Regions from separate parts of the Homo sapiens genome. Here all the other regions are linked to region 1. Evidence: promoter capture Hi-C in human tissues and cell types (Jung and others, 2019). All regions are on one chromosome and are shown on one strand. Each heading gives the region's core, a stretch centred on a gene start or on the middle of the fragment in contact. The rest is flanking DNA. Distances are from core to core; before and after follow the strand shown.

Region 1 (3,317 bases), core at 493-2,992:
GGCCTGGCTCTTGGAACCCGCGCAGCTCAAGGTTGGAATTGTGCAATTAAACCTTCCAAGGCATGTTTCCCCTGTCAAGTGGGTTTATGGTCGGTAGTCACGAAGCCAGACTCGCTCATGTTCTGTCTGCACACTTGGCACACTTGAACCAGGGACAGCAATCCGGTGTGTGTGTGTGTGTGTGTGTGTGTGTGTGTGTAAGACAGGTTTAATATTTTGGTTGGCTCAAATTCTTCAAACAGCAAAAAGAGACATCCAAGAAAGAAAGTCTCCGGGTTTTGAGGAGAAGTTTGCTGTGAGCCCCATTTTGAAACACCATGGTGTTGGCCAGGATGAGCTCTGCTTCCGGGGCTTCCGCTCAAGAGTCCCGCGATCCCCCCCTGCAGTGGCCGGACAGCCGCGTCCCGCTCCACCGCGAAGCCCAGGCGCGACCGAAGGGCTGCAGGTGGAGCAGACCCGGACGTCTCCGCGAGGCGGCCATCGAAGGAGAGCCTGGGGCTTTCGGCGCGGGCGCCCAGGAGGGAGCTGGGGTCCCCGGGAGGTGGGGGGCACTCTTGGATAGGCAAGACGAGGGCGCACCGGGCGAGGCGAGCGGCCGGGGTCTGCGCCCAAGGGGCGGGTCGGACCCCACCTGCCTTTTGCCAACGAGGAAACTAACCGCCGCCAGCACCACCCCTCCCCGGGAGCCGCAGGTGGTGGTAGACGAGTTCTCCCAGCTCCCAGGTCGAGGCTGCGACTCCACACTGGGGAACGAGGATCGCGGGGACCTGGAGAGGGGCCGGGGCCAGGCTGGCGGGCGCCGGCTTCAGTTTGAGACCTGCGCGGAGGGCGGAGGCGGGGAGGTCCTCTCAGAAAGCCGCCTGTCCCGCGGGGTCCGAGGGGAGGCTGTATTTTTGGGTTCCTTCCTCAGCTTCCCTAAACAGTGCAGTCTCGGCGGGTGGGCAGCGCCCGCCCCTCGGGTGCGCGCCAGGACCCCGTCGCGCCCTGGGAAGACAGCGCGGGGCGCACGTGCGGGACCCCGGCCCCAGGCGCCCACCAGCACCCGGCTTTCGCCCACTGACGCCGATCCTGCGCAGCTGGGCGGGGAAAGTGAGGGAAGAAAGTTGGGAGCGGTTCGGGGCGCCGGAGGTCCCGGCGGCCGTTCCCCGCCTGGCCTGCAGCCCGGTGTCCCACGCGTCTCCTCCTCCGCCCGCCCCAGACTCTCCCGGCCGAAGAACGAAACGTCCCGTTCCTCCCGCGGTCCCGGTCGGCGGCGCAGCTGATCTCAAGGAAACAGGAAAGGACGGGCGGGGGCGCGGGCGCCGAGCCGGTGCGCCGGTGCGCGGTTGGGCGGGCTGCGGGGTCCGGGGCGCGATCCGGGGGCGGCGCGGGAGCCGGCGAGACACGCCCTTACCTTTCTTTTCCTCCAGAGCCCGACTCGCCGGGCAGAGCGCAGCCAGCAGCGCCAGGAGCGCTGCCCCGGCCGTCCCGGAGGGTCGCATCGCTGCTCCCCGAAGAGCTCGCTCCGGCTCTCCCGATCAATACTGGACGGAGTCAGGGGGCCGTGCGCGGTGGTTGTGGCGTTGGCGGCGAGGCGGGGACTCGGGCGGACGCCGACGAGGTGGCCTGTCGTCCGGTCTGGGCGGCGGCGGCCGCCGGGGCTAGCTCGGGACTCCGGCCGCCTCGGCCGCGTCGGGCGCTCACACCGTGCGGGGGGCGGAGGCTGCTGCGGCCGCGCTGCGCCGGGGGCTGCCCGGACGTCTAGCTCGCGCGGGCCGAGGCGCGGGGAGGCAGGGCGGGAGGAGGAGGGACCAGGCGGCGGAGGAGGGATCGGGAGGAGCAGAGGAGGAGGAGAATGCGAGGAGGAGGGAGGAGAACCAGCAGCGGGGACCCAAGGCCAGCGGCCGCCGGAGGCGGTGGACAGCGGTGGCCCCCGCGGGACCTAGTCTCCGGCGGGAGTGGGGCGGCGCATGGGAGGGGAGCGGGTGCCCTGAGGAGTTAATTTCCGAGAGGGGCGTTCCCAGCACTGCCCCTCTGGACCCGGTCCCCGCGGACTTGCAGGCCCAGCCTATGTCCAGGTCGAGCCAAATCTGTGCCAGGGTCCCCTTCCCCCTTTCCCTTCTTTTGTTTTACAAAGCAAACTTGTACCAGCTTTAGACAGACTGGCCGAGCCTTAGAGCCAGCGTCGGATAATGGCACCGACGGGGAAACTGCTCCTTTATTCGGGTCCCCACCTCCCCTGCAGCACTACGGGACCCTCTCGGGGATCAGAGGCTGGCCTGGCAGCTGAGGAGGTCGCCGTGCCCGCGCGGCAGGGGTGCCAGGCGTCCGAGGTGGTGCTCTAAAGTCCGAGGGTCCTTCAGATCTTGTCAAGCACCCTCGAAATCATCTGAAATGAGGGCACCCAACTCCGGGTGCAGAGACAGGCCTCCTTAATGTTTATTGCAACCAGCCATGGGTACTTTGAAGCCAATGTGTGAAGCACATTACTTCGCAAAAGTGAAGCTCTTGGAATAAAGGCTTGACACAAACAGCCGTGGAGGTGCTTTTAGAGAGGCTAAGTGTCCCACTGCCCCTGTAGCTCCCGCAGGAGAAATGCCAGGGAAACTCGCGGAAGCTTTGGCCAAAAGAAACTGAGCTTTTTTGGGCTGCAGGAACTTGAGCTATATTCCTTTGGCAAGTCCACCCCATCCCCACTGTTCCTTCTCCTGCAGTAAAAATGTCCTCTAGGTCCATGTTACAGCCAGACCCCTCCTCTCTTCACGAGATTCACTAGGACCTTCAGGCCTGGTTCAACAACCCTGATCTCTCGGCTCTGTCAAAAATCACAATCCTGAAGTAAGTGAAGCTACAGACCTGCCCTTTGCTGTCTCTGAAGGGGAGCAACCTTACATCTTTCCTCCTCATCCAGCAAAATGTTTGTGCCTGGGTCTCGCACCCTGCAGCCTGAACGGTGGGGTTTTTCACCAGGGCAAGCGCAGACAGACACAGGTCTGCTCACTGCCCGCACAACCTGGAACTTCCCTGTGAATTAGGAGAAGTAATCTGTTCCTTTGTTTTAACAAATCAGTACAGCCACTGTGCGTTGAAGTCATGCCCTGAATGCAGAGGCCATGAAGGCTCTGCAGGCATGTGTGTGCTTCCTGCACACCTGGGCTGAGAGCAGTCCGTAGAAACACAGAAAACAAAACTAGAGAAAGGCAAATGGGAAGCACAACAGTGGAACATAAAATGAAGACAGGAGTGAGTCTTACAATAAAAGACCTGAATACAATAAAGTCCTGTGCATTCACTTAACAAGGGCTGCAAATTTGGTTTTAAACTATATTTTCTGTCAA
Region 2 (3,334 bases), core at 267-2,766, 120 kb after region 1:
AGTTTTCATATCTTCCCATTCAAAAGAACACCTTACCTAACTTCTTCATTATTATCACTTTCTACATTGAGGAGACCCATCCTAATTGGAGGGCTGAGAGATCATGAAAATTCAAACATTCCAAGAAAAATAACAATATTTGAATGATCCCTCTGAAAGAGATTTATCAGAACCTCTCCTGTTCTCTTCTTGCTAATGCCTCTGTTTGTCATGGTGAGAAATGTTATGATGATTTAGAAGTAGTCTGAGGAAAGTTTGTTAGCTTCAAAAGGGCAAAATAAAATTTCCCAAATTCGCAAAGCCAAAGAGGTCTTTTTCTTTAAAGTGTGACTGTGGGGCCTTTGGTACATCAGTTTTAGAGAAATAAAGTGTTTTTTTTGTGTTCCTATATAAGTAACACATGCATTTTTAAAACTCTATAGAAAATGTGTTATTTTCAATAAATGATATGTATAATTTTTTAGTTATCTCGATATGACACTTACCTTCTATACTTTGAACACCCTCTCATGAGATACTGTACATCTTCTTTGCATATACTTACATTTTATATTGTCTGCCTTCTCTGCTCGTCTATAATTTCTGTGAAATCAGAAAATGGCTCTCATATCCCCACTTTCCAGTCACTAGTGAACTCCCCAAATATAATTGAATATATGAATGAATATTAAATAAGACTTACTAAATTCATCATGACAATATTATATATGTCTTACAAATGAAAAAACCAAAATTATGTTTTCTATTCGGGACTAAGCTTGAATCATTAGAGTGTGACATTTCTGAAAGTATGTTCTACAGAAAATTATTTCTGGAGGATTTTAATAATCAGCAAAACAACCTTCCTCCCTTGTTTAATAATTAAAGTAATTTGGAGAATTGAAAGTTGCTACATTAAGCAAAATTAGGTTACTTTACCACTAGACATAGAAATACATTAATATGTATATAGAGCGTGCAAAGCTCTGGGTGGGGATTTAGACTTCTCTGACTGGCCGGAGGTCTTCTTAACAAGCTTCCTGCAGGAATAAAATTGTCCTTTGGGACCAGCTGTGTTAGAACATGGCATTTATGCTTGTTTCATTGAATACTCCATTTTGATCAGTCTGCCTTTTGACCTGATAAAATTTATGATTGCATATGCAATGTAGATGTAGCAGATAGGCAAAAACTAATTGAGAATCTCTTATGAACCCTTGTCTAGCACTTGCAACAATCCTATGGGGAAAGCCCTATTATCCCCACTTTGTAGATGAGGAAGCTGAGACCCAAAGCGGTGAAGTGAGTTTCGGGGCCAGCACAGTAGCGCTTGTGAGGAGATGGTGTCTCATTCCGGTTGGCCTGATTCCAGTGTCCAAGCTTGTTCTGCCGACTTCATCAAGTTTCCAGCTTCCATGGTACCTGTCCTCATGCTGACCCAGGCCTTTCCATGGCACTGGCTGCATCCCAGAGTGAGGTTCCTGGGTGGTCCTGCCTCCACAGCTCCTTGTTAGAAAACCTGTGGATTTGCTGCTCCTCAGAGTTTTTCTTGTTCTTTTCTCAGGTCCAGTTGCTTGTGAGACTGGCTGTGTTTTCTGCTCTTCGATTCTTTTAAATATCCCTACTTCTTTATGATTATTCATCCTTAGACTAGTTTGTGTAGGTTTCTCCTTTTGCCGTCAAACTACTCTTGTCTAAGACAAAGCTTGAAAGAGGGAAGATTCTGGTGTTGAGCTTTGAATGAATGCCGGGCACTATGTTAGTAAACTTCCTGTGTGTGCAAAGGTGTGTTCACGTGTGTGGAGATGTGAGCCTCAAAACAACCCAGAGAGAATATGTGATGATAGCTCCGACCAGCAACTGAAGCTAAGTCCGAAAGAGATGGCCGTGGACGTGAATGGAGGCTCCTCACCATATTAGTTGCACCAGAACACAATCACCAACTAGTCATCAATATTAGATGATTGTGTGAGACAAGGCTGTCAGGCAAAGAGAAATTGGGGAAGAAAGTTGTGTAATGCTAAAGTCACCACCAGGGTTTGAGTTTGCACCAAAGATTATGCGGGTGGCTCCTTCCATGCTCTTCCCCAGCCGTCTCTTCCTGTCCTGCAGCACCTTTTGAATGGAATGTTCACCTTCCCCTTCCCAGTCAGGAGAGTCCTTTCACCACAAAGATTATCAGCCACTTGTATTTTGTGTGCATTGTATATATTTACCCCTGTTTATTTGCCTTTTGATTTTGTAAAGGGATTTTTAAGCATACATAAGATTTAAATTATATTAGACTATAATAGCTATGTGTGTATACATAAATATATGTATTTTGTGTATACATAAATATATGTATTTTGTGTATACATAAATATATGTATTTTATACACACATGCATATATATTCATATATACACATATACACATACATATATAGTCCCTTAGAGTTTCTCCTAACATGTTTATTCTTGTTTTTTTTTTCTTAGAAACTCAGTCCATTTAGGCTTAGTTTAAAGCTATATTTCCCTGACTTATTTTTAAAGATATTTTATCAGGTAGCTGCTTTAAATGGATTTTAGGACAAGTCTGAAAATCATGTATGTGTAAATAAATAAATTATCAAGTATAAAAATAAATAAGCACCATATTCTCCCAGATGCCATAATCATTTCACATTCTTGGCACCTAGGGGTAGAGCCCGGCATGCCTCAAGTTCAGTGGGTGCTGTTTGAGTCAAGGGTCAGTAAATGAATCGTAATATATTACAAACAAGGCTTCTAGAGGCTATCCTTCCTGCTCTTATAGGTTGTGGAAGAAACTTCTATTGAAGTAGTGCCATATACAGGCATGCAGTAAAAGTTCTCTTTTTTCTTCCTATCTGGCCAAAGAATCACATTTTTTCATACATGAAAGAGAGAGGCAGCTTCTTTTTCCATCAGTTGTGTAAAAGTGCCTAAATAGATAAAAATTGTGTTAACTTTCATTGGGATTTTTGTTTCTACCTAGAAGAGCTTTCCAGTAATGAAAGTTTCAGTCCTTTTCATATATTCAAAAGGTTAAATTGCCATATTTAGCCAATTAAAGGACAGGATGCCCAGCTAAATTTGAAAAATAGCTCTAACTGCTGAATATTTGTAATTGATTGAAGAAAGCTTCATACAGGACGTTAGGACATGCTGCCAAAGTCACTACAGGATGTGGGGTGAGGACACAGGAGCCCAGCAAGCCTAGCAAAAGATGGCCATCTCCAGTCGTGGCTCACACCTATCATCCCAGCACTTTGGGAGGCCGAGGCGGGAGGATCACCTGAGGTCGGGAGTTCAAGACCGGCCTGACCAACATGGAGAAACCCCGACTCTACTAAA
Region 3 (3,066 bases), core at 377-2,876, 66 kb before region 1:
GCTGCCGCCACATCACAGCTGTGCTGCCACCCAAGTGTGCCGCCTCCACAGCGGGAGCGACCTAAGCGTGGCCACCTCTGCCTCTGGAGGGCCTGCCTGCTGGCCAGCGGTGGCCGCCCCAGACCCGGGTGACTGGGCAGCACAGTAGCCCGCCTGGGCAGGGCATGAAATTAACGAGGCAAAAGAAGCCACAGAGAGATGAAAGCATAGAAGAAAAAAAGTCACCCTGCAGCTCAAATTAAAACAGAAAACTCTGCTGCTATACTTGGTCTTATTCCAAGAAGCTGCCAGGAAAGAATTGACTCACAGAAAAGCCACAGCTTCATTTTTTCCCATACTCAAGTGATATGTCTTTCCAGGGCTTTTTTCTTCAAAGGGAAAGGGAGCAAAATAACCTCACTTTTCTGCATTACCATAGACTATCTTATATAATTTTTTTACAGCCTGTAATGGCTGGTTGAGATACCAGCTGACAGTGTAGTGGATGAAGGCTCCGGGGTGCAAGCCCCTGGCTGTCCTGGCCAGCTCTTTAACTCGAGCAAATTACTTACTCTCTCTGAGCTTCCCTTTCCTCGGCAGTAACATGGAGGTATTGAGCAGAGAAATTGTGAGGCACTGTAGACACGAGATAATTCACAAAAATTGCACGGCACGGGACCTGGCACATAGTCAGCACTTCACAAACAGTGGCTCTCATAAGGTAGTTAATAGTGGTTTCAAACTATGTGTCAAATCTAAGGGAGGAAGAGGGGCTTCTAGGGGGTGGGGATGGGAGGGAATGTTCCAGTACAAATCTTGGTATTGTCAAACTTGGGGCAGCATGCTCAGGAGACAAAACACGGAGGCACATCTGCACAAGCTCAAATTCTACTTCTGCCACTGCATCAGTTGGGCCACTGTGGCTCCTCATTTCCTTATTTTTAAAAGAGCTGATGTGAGAACGAGCTGATTTAATGTGTAAAATACCTAGTGCCAGCAGACAGAAGGTACCCGCTACACACCAGCTCTGTACTCTGCCTTGATCCTTCGCAATTTTCGTTAGCAGAATTCCACCACGCACTACTGACTTTATGGTATGGCTAAAACCAGAATTCTAAATGTTCAAGGATTCTTGTGCAGTTACTTCAGCAGGAGTTTTCAGAAAGTGGGAGAAATACTATTTATGAAGCACCACCCATGTGCTTTAGTCTTTCTACATTGTTAGGTTTTCATGATAATACTTTAGAGATAAGAACACTCCTCATCTCATGGACAACGGAACGGGCTCTACAAGAGGGCGTGCACAGTGGACCTGGGGTCTGACGCCCACCCTGCTCTCTGCACCTGGAGCCCACCAGCATCCTGCTCCCCATGCTGCCTCCCCTGGAAAAAGAGACACATGCAAATGATGAAGCATGCAGGAGCCACATGGAGGTTTTATAAACTTAAAAGGATTTACATGAATGCCTCAGAGAAGGGGCAACCCAATGTCAACTCTGATACCCCAGGCATGATACCACTGACAATGTGTCTGCTGGCATCAGTTGGAAAACAATGCAAATATCCTTCATGTGATTAAACACAACATGCCTGTGACATTGTTTTTTTTTCTAGCCAGGCTGACTGTTGTCCTGTAGGCTTCCAAAGGCTGCTGGTGCCCTGACCTTCAGCTCCTAAATTACCATCTGAAGGACAAGGACTGGGGAAGGGAAGGAGAATTTGCATTTGAGCGTACCATTCCGTAGGTCATTCCAGAGAAACTGTGCCTTCCTCCCGGTTGACTCTCCGCTCACTGAGTGTGACAATATGCCTGACTATGGAAGATCACGGATGGGGCTGTACTGCCCTGCTACCGAGAACCTGGACAGAAGACAGCAGGTGAGCCCTGGAGGCTGGAATGAATGGCTAAGAGCATCTCAGGACTCCACTTCTCTGAAGGCAAAATCCAATATGCCAAATTCCTCTTCCTAATAAAAGCCCTTTAAATATTTGAAGACAGCTATTATAACTCCTCTTAGTTTTCTCCCAGATAAATATCCACATTTGCCTTCATCCGTCACTTGACTTTTCTCAAGTGTCTTCCCCATCCTCTGACCATTCCAGTTTGTAAACATTCCTCCCAAGTGTAGCCTTGTAACTGAACTCTTCTAATCAACAGAAGCTTGTCCAGCTTTATTATATCTCTTAATGCAACTTGACCCAAATGCATGATAAATATCAGTCCCATGGTTAGGTTATATGGCAAAGTTGAAGTTGTGCAGATGTAATTAACATCCCAAATCAGCTGGTTTTGATTTAATACAAAATGAAGTTATCCTGAGTGGGCCTGACTTAACCAGGTAAAAGCCATGAAGAATGGACTGAGCCCTCCTGGAGGCACATGCTTTCCCACTGGGCCTGGAGAAGCAGGCGGCCATGCTAAGAACTGCTTATGGAGAGGGTGGCCTCTAGGAGCCAGGACCTCAGTCCTACAGCCTCAAGAAACTGAATTCTGCCAAGAACCCTTATGAGCCTGGAAGAGGACCTGGAGCTCCAGATGAAAACATACTTTGTGAGTCCCTGAGAACCCAGACCCTGACCCACAGAAACAGAGATAAGAAGTGTGTGTTGTTTTAAGCTATGACATTTGTGGTTTTGTGTGCCAACCTCATAACTTGGGCTTACATCTCATCATGGTAAGCCAATCTCTATCTTTCATAGGGGCATTTGTTAAACCACCTTTCTTCCACTCAGGATATTTGTTACTGATTTGGCCTTGACCCTGTTATTAATAAATTCCCTGATTTTGTTCCATTCATTTGGGTCTGTATTTTAGGATCCCAATCTTGCTAACCTATATGTTCTAATCCCTTCCTCTTGATTTCTTGTATTCCAAAAACCTGAGGCACTCATTTAAACTGGCCAATCATTCCCAGGATGTTACTTCTTGACTCATCAAAGTAATCAACAGAGACAATGGGTTTCATTTTACCAAAAACTTCCAGTATATTTAAACATTAATGCATGTCTGCATTATATTAGTTCACATATTTTTAAAACACAAATTCGACTAATAAGTAGCCATTTTTTTTCAGGAAGAAAAAGATT
Region 4 (3,320 bases), core at 275-2,774, 81 kb after region 1:
GGGGTATCCATCCCTTCAAGCATTTATTCTTGGAATTGCAAACAATCCAATTATACTCTTTGAGTTATTTTTTTCTGAAAATCATCTATTTACTATAATACATATAAGACAATCTTAAAATTGTAGTCTGAATTAAGATAACATTTACCAAAGAATTTTTTTCTTTACTACACAAAATATAACCTAGTGAAATTTGCCTGTGCCACCTATTCTGAAAATTTTATCCATAATTTATTGTTCTGGTTATATCTTCACTAACAAAATGTTTACACCCAAAAGCAGCAGTCGTTTATAGTAATTCTGGTGCCAACATCAAAGGAAAAAAATTGGCTTAAAAATGGTGCAAAAGCCATTTTGGGTTTTAGGATAACACATCACAGGAAAGAACATGAATACAAATTTGTAACATAAACACTCCGAAGAGTTTGTCAGTACCCAAAGTATTTTTATTGGTTTTTTGGATATGTTTTTAAGGGCCACATAAAAATAGACACAAGGAACAAATTAAATTGAAGTCTTAGATTTAAATGTTTGGTTTAAAGAATTTTCTACAACAAATTTCATGTTTATGTATGAAAAGTTATATAAACTTAATGCAAATGTCATGAAGTATTTTCTACACTATACTAAATGTGTTCTCCAAAAGGGAAAAAATTAAAATATCTAAAATATATTAGATTAAGATTATAAGAACATCATAGATCTTTTGACCATGCATCTATTTACAGAATTAACAGTCTACAAAATGTTTATTTCATTATGGACCAGAAAGAAATGAGTTGGTGACAACTATCCTTTGCACAATATTATCAACTCACTTTAGTCACAAGCATGTCCTTGGTATGTGTGTAAAAGAAATAGGTTCATTTATCCTTCATCAAATCATCCACAGGTTTATTTGTAAGTAAAGATGAAGGTACAGAAATGTGAAATATGTCAAGTGTATTTTTTCTTTCTTTCAAACAACATCCCAAGCATGGCCTCAGTAGCCTGAAAGTATAAAATACTTAACTGGGCTTTTACTTATCTACACTGACTGCCAGAATGTAAATTAAGTTGCCCAAATTAGCACATCAAATAACAAAATCGCCAGAAAGCAGGCTGAAAAGCATTAAATGTTTCATATAGGTGAGTTTTTAAATCATTTAATTTCTATGGAAAAATTTTATTCACAACATAATGTGACAGAAATTGTCACAGGAATGATATACTGATTGCAATAAGGTTGCATGCAGCAGCAGCTTTGTATTTTATAGCTATTTTTGTTTATAAAAATTAAACCTCTCCAGTCATGCCTATCACATAGTCTTAGATTTGTAATGTAAGTGAATAAGGAATACCATCTAGTTCAAAGAGAAAATGTCATTTTGAATGTGAATTATCTGTATGAAATATGAAGTATACTACTGAACCCTGAAACATGCATGTCTAGATTTGCTTTTTGTCCAAATCCAGCCTGTTTGCAATTACTTCCTACTCATATAATACCAAGAGGTTCCGTTTGTAATTGTGGTTGTATCAGCTGAGGTTGCAATGGTGGCGGCAACTGAAGTAGTACCGTTGGTTCCACCAACTGTCCTGGGTTTGAAGGTGGTGGAGGAGCCACAGTGTTTGTCGTTTCTACAATTTCTCCATTGTAAAAGAAAAACTGACACTGTTGAATGAATGTTTCAACAACAGATTGATGAATCTTAGTAGTAGACAGAAACTCTTGATTTTCAAAATCAGCTCTCATCAAGGTTGGCCAAAAACAGATGGATTAAGTTGTCTGCTGTCATTAGGTTGATTTTATTTTGCTGACTAACCCTGTTCAGATGTGTTATCATGTATCTGAATACATCATAGTTTACAGGATGAAATTTCTTAGCAATTTCTTTCAAGGCATGAAGACATTCTGTTTTATCTGGGATTTTTGCTGTTTCCAATAGCTCTGGATGAAGAGAATATGGTATTAAAGGAACTGGCAGATCTGCAAAGAAAGCTTTAAGGGCTCCAGCTACAGCATTTACTGTTACTTCCATTGACACTAGATTGATATTATGATCTTGATCAAACTGCTTTTGAATATTGTCTTGGTCAGTTTCGTTCCTGCTAACACGGTAGAGTCCTTCAGTACATAACCCTGTATCTTCAATAAATTCCACACATTTCTCAACAAATACTGGTATGGGCTTCTCAGCTGTAACCAGATCCTGGAGGGGCATCCCAAAGTAATTACTTTCCCAATTTCTACATGTTGGTGGATTGAAGGTCTTAGTTTTCTTTTTCTGCTTTTTATCTCCTTTCACTTTGCGGGTTTTCTTCTCCATCTTCTTATCATCTAACTCCTGGTCAGAAGTGATTGCAGGATTACCAATACCTAACCTTTCCAAGTTTCAACAGGAGAAAGAAGTGGATCTTCTTCACTTCCACGATGTCTTCCTTTTCTTTTTGTTTTAGAAGTGGTGAAAGCCTCATCATCACTTGCATCTGAATGTGTTCTCCTATAGTATGACTTGGCTTTACTAAACATGATTTTAGACTTATATTTGTATTTTGAAGGCCTCCATTCCCCGTGATTTTTTTGAGGTTCTATCAGAAAATCCATTTTCTTCATCTCCTTGGGTGTTATTTACAAGTGAGTTTTGAATTTTAATGTGATTTTGACTATCATCTGGGACAATATAAATCTCATCAGAATAGCCCTTCTGTTTGAAAATTGTATCAATGGGTTCCGCATAGTTATCTGAAGGATTCATATCTTCAGGATGTGCCAAAGGCACCTGGGAAGTCCGCTTTCTTGGATTTTTACCAATACCAGCTTCAATTGTTTTTAAAATGTTTGGATCCATTTTTTTCACATTTGTCTTAGGTACAACTAGTTTAGGTTTAATAGGTGGAGGCACTTTATGGTTGCGTTCATGGTCACGACAGTTTGGGGTACTATGAATAGAATATTCATTTCCTTGCAAATCTAATCTGTATCTGGAATGGTCACTAGGTGTTGGAAGCAACTGTACATCATCCCCAGTTGGACTATAAGGAGGTAGTGCTTCTGTGTCATCATCTGAATCAGGGTAGTTGTTATAGGGAAAAAAGTCTCTGGGAGATGGTAGAAAAACATCTTCACTTTGATGGGTTGATTCCCTTGTATTATCAGACAAATAAGAATTTTCTATCATATGTTTTTTCTCTAGAACATCACTAAAAAACAGAATAAAGATCTCAGTTTGCTGATGATACTGAGATAAAGAATACAATGCTGTAAATTTAGCAGTGATCTCAGTTGCAATGTGTTCTTCAGTCATTAATTCTTTGATAGCCTCGTTTTCAAAAAAAAA

Evidence for each region. The method cuts DNA at HindIII sites, captures the fragments that hold promoters and counts their contacts. A contact is called where the count stands out against the background at its distance.
Region 2: a fragment that was not itself captured here is called in contact with the fragment with the promoter of EGFR in region 1 in 3 of the 25 tissues and cell types used here (adrenal gland, dorsolateral prefrontal cortex and spleen).
Region 3: a fragment that was not itself captured here is called in contact with the fragment with the promoter of EGFR in region 1 in 2 of the 25 tissues and cell types used here (bladder and mesenchymal stem cells).
Region 4: a fragment that was not itself captured here is called in contact with the fragment with the promoter of EGFR in region 1 in 5 of the 25 tissues and cell types used here (adrenal gland, bladder, mesendoderm cells and 2 more).

What each region holds. Positions count from the first base shown.
Region 1 is chr7:55,017,442-55,020,758 of GRCh38, reverse strand. EGFR (epidermal growth factor receptor) reads right to left here and starts at 1,742. Exons shown (of 28, transcript NM_005228.5): 1 at 1,394-1,742. The coding sequence starts at 1,481. LOC105375284 (a long non-coding RNA gene) reads left to right here and starts at 1,837. Exons shown (of 4, transcript XR_007060329.1): 1 at 1,837-3,317. RefSeq lists an enhancer at 68-742. The HindIII fragment of the contact is 5,592 bases long and covers 1-3,278 here.
Region 2 is chr7:54,900,737-54,904,070 of GRCh38, reverse strand. No RefSeq gene overlaps it. Among named protein-coding and RNA genes, the nearest start is that of EGFR, 120 kb to the left of the region's middle. The HindIII fragment of the contact is 4,185 bases long and covers 1-3,334 here.
Region 3 is chr7:55,083,674-55,086,739 of GRCh38, reverse strand. All of the region lies in intron 1 of EGFR (epidermal growth factor receptor), which reads right to left. Among named protein-coding and RNA genes, the nearest start is that of EGFR, 66 kb to the right of the region's middle. The HindIII fragment of the contact is 3,887 bases long and covers 1-3,066 here.
Region 4 is chr7:54,936,342-54,939,661 of GRCh38, reverse strand. It overlaps the pseudogene LOC643168. Among named protein-coding and RNA genes, the nearest start is that of EGFR, 81 kb to the left of the region's middle. The HindIII fragment of the contact is 7,135 bases long and covers 1-3,320 here.